2 separate regions of the Homo sapiens genome follow, and region 2 is linked to region 1. Evidence: promoter capture Hi-C in human tissues and cell types (Jung and others, 2019). All regions are on one chromosome and are shown on one strand. The core of a region is centred on a gene start or on the middle of the fragment in contact, and the rest is flanking DNA. Distances in the headings are between cores, read along the strand shown.

Region 1 (3,943 bases), core at 1,024-3,523:
TAAGGCTGAGTTATGTCAGAAAGAGAGCAACAGATCACTATCATTTTTTAACTTTAAATTACTTTTCTTGAGTCTGTGCTTATGTACTTAAAGAGAAGTTGTATATTCTCTCCTACACATTCATTCTCTAATAATTCTCTGCTCTTATCTATTTATAAAACTAAGAATAATATGAAGATGAAAAAAGTCAATGTTTGCTAAACCTAAGATTTTACTATAATCTCTTATGGTGAATAACGAGACAATGCTAGCACTCTTTGTTTGACATCACCTCAAATTTTTTATAGCTACATTGGCATTCTGTTCATGAAACACAAGTAAAGCGATGACTTCATTCCCGAGGATAAAGGATAATTGATCTTAACCTTCCTATCACTTTTCCTTAACTCAAAGCACTAATGCAATTGAAGGTACTGATAAATAAAATTTCTCCAGGAAATGAATGACATTGTGACAGATAACCTCCAAGTTACCTCCAAAAAGTACAAAGTACAATATGATTCAGAATCTCAATTCAGGAAACCCTTGCCCCACAGTGTGAATGGAAAGCTGCCAAAAATATTTTGTTGAAAAGAAATTCAAACTTTGAGGATATTTTTTCTTCCTCAGTTTTTAAACAAAAAAAAAAACCTAATTTCAACAAAATCCCAACAATTCAAAATGAAGCAATGTTCAAAGCTGGATTATTCATTTACATTAAATTTATTAGTGTGATGCTTTTATTACCACAAACCTAAAACATTTTGCCACCTTTATCTCCTGATGTTACCAACTAATCCTGATAAAACATATAAAGCTAAGTAATGGCTCTGGAAAACTGTGTATAACTATATTAAGTTGCTACTTCACCAAGATAGTAGTATTCCCATCTCTTTTCCCTTTCTTTTTTTCCAGTCACTGATGATACTTACCATACTGAGCTGGAGTATGTGAATATGGCTGATTTTGGCCACATAATTTTGCCATACTTTTTAAAACAGAGGTCAACAGCTAAATTAAGGCAAAATTTTACCACATTTTTAAAAATCGGAGTCTAAAGAATGGAGGGAAGGTTATTGATTGCCACGTTAATGTAACATTTCCCTTTCCAGAACAAGTAATTATGCCTCTTTAATGTAAATATGGTAACCCACTCAACGTAAGCTAATCTAGAGAACAGACGCCCAAAGCACACTGTCACCCAATACACGAGCGCACACACACACACAGTGGCCAGAGGACAGAGCAAATTCAGAAACCCAGAGCTCAGCACCTTGCATAGAACTGTCACCCCTGACAACCTTCACACAAGCACACCTGGCTGGCTTAGATTTGCAGCACCAGTATACCTTACTGGTAACCCAGCTGCAGCCCACCATCACAGCCCGCAAACGCAAGCCCACAACCCCACACACCCCGTCACTTTTTCCAAGAGACCTGTACGCCGGCCCCAAGCCTCACTGGCTCCGAGCCCGTCCGGAGTTTCCGCGGCCGCCCCGAGGCCACTAACCGTGTCTGCAGTCGCAGTAGCCCCAGTCCACCTTGCCACGGGCGTCTCCGTAGAAACACCAGGGTCTGCCCGCGCCGTCGGGGCTCCGACAAAAGTTGTGGCGCTGTCCTCGCAGCTGAGCCCAGCTCGCTGGGGGCGACCGCTCCAGGAAGGGTGGCACCTCCGCCCACCGCAGACACGGGGCGCCGAAGTCCGTCACGCTGACCCATGGCTCGCCGGCGGGGCAGCCCCAGGGGTGCGGCCGGGGCGTGTGCCCGGCCTGGAGGGCGTGCGGGCGCTGGGCAGGGAGCGCCCGCGGGGGGCGCGGGAAGCGCGGGAGAGGCGGCGGCGGACGCGTCCTCGGGGGCCGCTGCTGGGTGGGAAGGTAATAGGGGTAGTGCGGACCCGCAGGGGGCGAATGGCGGTGGCTGTGGTGGAGGGAATCATTGAGGACAGAATCAAAGCCGACCACTTCGGGGAGCGCCCCTAACATCAGGGCTAGCACGAAGCGGGCGAGCGTCATGGTGCCAGCGCTGCGGGGTCTGGTCCATGCTCCCCAGCTTCTCGGGCTTGGAGCGGAGAAGAGGAGGGGGCGGGGGCGGGGCTGCCGCGTCCCTCGAATCCCCCAGCCCCCTCCCGCCCCCGCACGCGGACCGCCCTCGCCTCCCCAACCTTGCCTCCCGCCGCTGGTGCCCTGCCGCGCCTCGGCTCCTGTCCCCTGGCGGCGGCCGCGGGTGGGGAAATCTGGAGCTCAGCCGAGCCCCGGCCGGCGGAGAGGACCGGAAAAGAGAAGGCGCGGACGCAGCGGGGAGCGGTTGGGCCTGAGCCCCAGGTAGCGGCGCAGGCACGAGCCCGGGAACTCTGCCCCCTGGGGGCGGGCGCCGGCCGCGCAAGCTGCTCCGGACCTACGCTCGGCCCCTGCCAGGCCCACCGCAGTCCGCCCGCACGGCACTGCCAGCTGCTGGGACCGAGCCCGAGGGTGCCCGCGCGGAGCACGGTCTTGGCTGCCCCTTGCCAGCATGCAGCACCAGCACAGCCCGGCGTTGGCGGCTCCCAAATCTGGCACCGGCCCCTGCCGTCATCTCTCCTCCAACCTCGTCGCCCCGTATCTTGCTTCCTCTGTTTTGAAATCTTTACCAAAGTATGGATGGATTTAGATGCAGCTCTTCCCTGACAACTCCCAGGATAAAAGTTATCAAAACCCACGAGGAATGTTAAAGCCATTTCACTGAACTATACGCTCTTCAAGGACAAGACCACGTTTTATTCAGCTTGATATCACCGTGCTTAACACCGTGCCCCAATAAACATTGGCTGAAATTAAAATCCTGAACCGACTCAGGGAAAGGAGCTTGAGCCTTTCTGCTTCCTGCCTCCCACTTTCCAGCCGGTGCCCTGGACAACACCAGTTGTTTGGTTATTATTGGGATTCAGTGAGGCTCTCTTAATACCAAATTTCCTCTCTAACCAGAGAAGACTTCATCCGTCCCGGTTTCCATCCTATCCAAAAAGTCCACCCCCCTAGCACCTGCCTCGTTTTTTGCAGGGCAAGGGACTTCTGTTAAGCCTATTCATTTGCCTCTCCAGAGACTCTGCCTGCTGACAATTTTGAAGCTTCACTGTTGGCTCGACCTCAGCTTAGTAGGGCCCTTTCAACACTCCTCGCCCCCCTCCCGCAGGCTCCAAAAAACTGTTGGCTTAGAATCTTAAAAAAAAAAAGTTACTGGAGCTGTATGTTTTAGTATTTTGCCTTTCAGTTGTTTCTGACTATGCTACCAAAGTTTGACAAGGAGAAGGAAGCCCGTAAAGAAGGCAACATTTTATTTTCTGGCATGGTCACGTTTCGTTGTGAAAAAGCAATGCTGTCTCATAATATAATGTACCCTGAAGAAAACTTGAACAAAATTCAAATGTTTATTGTTAAAACCTAGGTTTCAATTAGGAACTGAATTAATTCACTACTAGCTTTAAATAAGCCATCTTTAGCCGGGCGAGGTGGCTCACACCTGTAATCCCAGCAGTTTGGGACGCCCAGGCAGGCGGATCACATGAGGCCAGGAGTTCGAGAACAGCGTCGCCAACATGATGAAACCCGCCTTTACTAAAAATACAAAAAGCCGGGGGAGTGTTGGCGCACGCCTGTAATTCCAGCTACTTGGGAGGCTGAGCCAGGAAAATCGCTTGAACCTGGGAGCAGAGGTTGCAGTGAGCCGAGATCGTGCCACTGCACTCCAGCCTGGGCGACAGAGGGAGACGTTGTCTCAAGAAAAAAAAAAAAAATCCATCTTTAATTTTGTGGGTCGTTTTATTGTTTTTTGTTTCACTCCTATTAATGAAATATTTGATTTTACTTTAGAGAGAATTGGGTAAAAGAAATGATGTTAAGAGTCCAGGGATGTATTTGTCAAATCTTTATTCAAGTTGTTTTCATTCCAGTTGTTTTTACCCATTATTTTTTTACTAATACTTTTCTGG
Region 2 (3,943 bases), core at 687-3,186, 240 kb after region 1:
AGTTTTACACACAGTAAGTAAACAAAAGAATACTCAGTCCTCACATTTTGCAACTCTGTGGGATTTGTGTGAGCAGTGAAAAGTTGTGGCTGCCCGCAATCACACATCTCCCCTGGAGAATTGAAGTGAAATCCCAGCCCTCATGTAGTTATGCCTAGAAATTACCTGTTTGTGATTTAACACTTGGTAAATGGCACTAAAACCTCATTAATCTTCAATTAGCCATAAATGGGCATCTCACATCTTACTACAGTTTCTTCATCCTGAGAAATCATTAGTCCTTTCTGGGCAAGGGCAATTATGTGAACAGGCAGAAAGCTCATCGCATAGCTTAAGTGCAGGTCTCCAGTCCATAATGGTACTTAAGACGTGGGGGCTGCCTGTGATTCTTGATTGATGCCGTGTGATAGCCTGGGCCTATTCCATCACGCCGTGATCCTCAGCACGCCTCCATCCCCAGGCTGCTTTTATCAGCTTGAGTGTTCCAAAAATCCCACTTCCTTGATTACTTCAGAGGACTGTTGCAAGGATAGAAAGGGTATGTCTGTTATTATTGGATCAGGATGTGTGTGTGTGTGTGAGGTGGGAGAAATCTGAGTCCCTGAATCCCCTGGAAATAAGAAATTGAAAATGCATATATATTCAGAATTTAAGGTATAAAAGGTAGAACTCTCCTTTAATCCAGTAGCACAAAATCCTCAATGTTCCTTGCATCTCTTGTGAACTCGATGGCCCTTGAATGACCTAATACATGTCTTGGTCCATCTTTTGTTTTTTGAGATAGGGTCTCTCTCTGTCACCCAGGTTGTAGTGCAGTGGTGTGACCACAGCTCATTGCAGCTTCAACCTCCTGGGCTGAAGCGATCCTCCTACCTCAGCAGGGAGTCCCTCAGCTACTCAGGAGGCTGAGGTAGGAGGAAGTTACATGGCCAAGCCTGAAGTTATGAGTTGGGGCAGTTTACATCTTGAGTGGAAGGAACTGCAAATTTACACAGTAGAAATTATAGATTTAAGGAGGGATGAACAACTGGGGCCAATACGGGACTGCCTGTAGTCCCTCAGCTACTCAGGAGGCTCAGGTGCTAACGATGTGCACCACCTCAGCCTGTAGGGACTGCAGGCATGCACCACCATGCCTGGCTAATTTTTATATTTTTTTGTTGTAGAGAGAGGATCATCTTATGTGCTCAGGCTGGTCTCAAACTCCTGGGCTCAAGCCATCCGCCTACCTCAGCCTCTCAATTGCTGGGACTGCAGGTGTGAGCCACTGCATCTGGCCCTTGTTCCATCTTTATGGCTTTTAAAACATCTTCTGAACACTTAGAACTTGCAGCCCTTATTGTTACAGTGCTGTGTGTGTGTGTGTGTGTGTGTGTGTGTGTGTGTTTCCTACCTGGCTTCCAGAAACCCAGCTCCTAAAGAGAAGTCCCCCAGCCCCTTCTGCTGCCAGCTGTTCTCTGCTGCGGGCCTGTCTTCATCAGGTGTTCCATTGACAGATGCTGCTTTTCTCCCCTCAGACCACCAGGGATGGCTCTACGGTTGCATCCACTGGAGATCAATTGAAGTTGGTCTGGATCTCACAAATGGAGTCCCTTTGCCACTGTGTCTATGAAGGATTCTGACTGCTGCTTTCACCAGTTTTCAGCACCACTAAAACACTTTGTTTCCTAATTAAGCTGTTTCCAGGTCTTTCCTGTCTCACAGTGGAAAATGACCTCTGGGCCATCCCTAGGAAAAAACATGTGTTACCACTGAGGTTTTTCCTGCATCAGACTGCATTAACCTCAAGAGCTCATGCTTGGATCATCATCCTTTTAAGGCAACTAAAATTCAAGTTCATTAACTATCCCATTCTATTCTGGCTCATTCTGCAGTTGGTCAACCTTGTTCTTTCTTAGAGCAGATACCCTCACCTCTTTCCTTGTGACCATGGGTATTGAGGGGAAGTTCTCTACAGATGGAATCTTTCTTTAGCATTATTTAGTGGGTTTGTATTCTCTTGTAAGTCTTTTTATCCCCTCTCCATTAAAAAGCAGCTTGAGCTATGTGTACGTGGTGAATTCATCACAGTGTTCTGGCAGGATTTCCAAATACAGGGAAAGGTGATTATAAAACAATTCCTTATGTGATAAACTTGGATAGACCGCCCACAGACACATTTTTGATTGTCAATGCTAATTGGGACAAGAAAGAACATGGGTAATTGAAATTCTCTGCTATCCCACAAATGCTATTTTAGTTGCTCTGGTGGTTTTTTAATGTGTCAGTTTAGCTTGGTTGAATTACATTTCCCAAAATTACCTTTCCTATTGGTTTTTGGTTGGGATGGGCCACAAAACAGATTCTTCCAGGAGATTTGCGGGGAGCAAGGAAAGTTGCAGCCATTGTGTAGCTCACACACCTTGTCACTCATCTCCTGGCTCACCTTGTTCGCATGAGGCAGGGGTCAGGCCTGCAACTGCTCCACCCTCCCAAGCCTGCCTCAGCTTCTCCCACTCCTGGGTATGTGTTGAGCTCTTGGATGGTGTTGGTTACTGCAGGACGTTCAAGGTCACCATCAAGCTCAGATGCAGCAAGAACTGAAAAAGACTTCGGTCCATTTTTGTGGGCTCCAGCTCAGCTCCTTATTGTGGTTTCACGTTGCTCTTCCTCTTTTTTTTTTTTTTGGAGACAGAGTCTTGCTCCGTCACCCAGGCGGGAGTGCAGTGGTGCTATCTCTGCTCACTGCAACCTCCGCCTCCCAGGTTCAAGTGATTCTCCTGCCTCAGCCTCCTGAGTAGCTGGGATTACAGGCATCTGCCACCATGCCCGGCTAATTTTTACATTTTTAGTAGAGACGGGTTTCACCATCTTGGCCAGGCTGGTCTTGAACACCTGACCTCATGATACACCTGCCTCAGCCTCCCAAAGTGCTGGGATTAGGCGTGAGCCACTGTGCCTGGCCTGCTCTCTTTTAATATCCATCTTTCCTTTCTGATATATTAATAGTTTGTATACTTGTCCCACCCAAATCTGATGTTGCATTGTAATCCCCAGTGTTAGAGGTAGGGCCCGGTGGGAGGTGACTGAATCATGGGGGTAGAATTCTCATGAATGGTTTAGCACCATCCCCTTGGTGCTGTTCTCACAGTAGTGAGTTCTTGCAAAATCTAGTTAAAAGTGTGTGGCACCTCCCCCCATCCTCTTGCTCCTACTTTCACCATGCAACATGCAAGCTCCTGCTTCGTCTGCCATGACTGTAAGCTTCCCGAGGCCTCCCCAGAAGCCGATACTGCAGCTATGTTTCCTGTACAGCCTACAGAAGCGTGAACCATTTAAACGTCTTTTCTTTATAAATTACCCAGTCTCAGGTATTTCTTTACAGCAATGCAAGAACAGCCTAACACACTTCTCAACTGCCCACCCTATAGACGTCAACTTCCCTCAGACACAAAAACAGCTTTTCAGAGATGACTTAACCAGCTCCCACAATTGCTTAAGGTTAAATACCTCTGTCAACCTAAATAACAGAGAGAAGCTCTCTAAAAGATACTTATTTGGGAATAAAGCACTGCAGTGGAAATATGCATGCAGCAGTAAACTATGTTGGTATTCAGGGCGGTTAAAGGAAGACAAAGATTTTTAAAGGAAAAAATAAGGAGGATTACATAATTGTTTTTGAAATAATTATCCTGGGCTACAGAGAACAATAGCAAGGGTGATGCCAGTCCGAGAGTGTATAGGCAGTCGCTGGGCAGATGTCCTTGCAGGAGTATTTTTTATGTAAGGTTGTGACAGCCTTTGTGCTAAGTTGTAGTTTTTATTGCTTTTGGTGGTCGTTTCTGTTAGCAGGCATGTAAGCATGAGAATCCTCTTCATGTCTTTCCCTGGCTCTATTTGTCAAGGTTATCTTAACATAAGTGACTCCATTTCGATGCTGACAAATTACATACCTCTAACAAAA

Evidence for each region. The method cuts DNA at HindIII sites, captures the fragments that hold promoters and counts their contacts. A contact is called where the count stands out against the background at its distance.
Region 2: a fragment that was not itself captured here is called in contact with the fragment with the promoter of PRSS12 in region 1 in 2 of the 25 tissues and cell types used here (adrenal gland and mesendoderm cells).

Annotation. Positions count from the first base shown.
Region 1 is chr4:118,350,730-118,354,672 of GRCh38, forward strand. PRSS12 (serine protease 12) reads right to left here and starts at 2,274. Exons shown (of 13, transcript NM_003619.4): 1 at 1,490-2,274. The coding sequence starts at 1,991. RefSeq lists an enhancer at 2,019-2,864 and silencers at 2,131-2,210, 2,241-2,500. The HindIII fragment of the contact is 10,666 bases long and covers 1-3,943 here.
Region 2 is chr4:118,587,242-118,591,184 of GRCh38, forward strand. No RefSeq gene overlaps it. Among named protein-coding and RNA genes, the nearest start is that of METTL14-DT, 96 kb to the right of the region's middle. The HindIII fragment of the contact is 7,643 bases long and covers 1-3,943 here.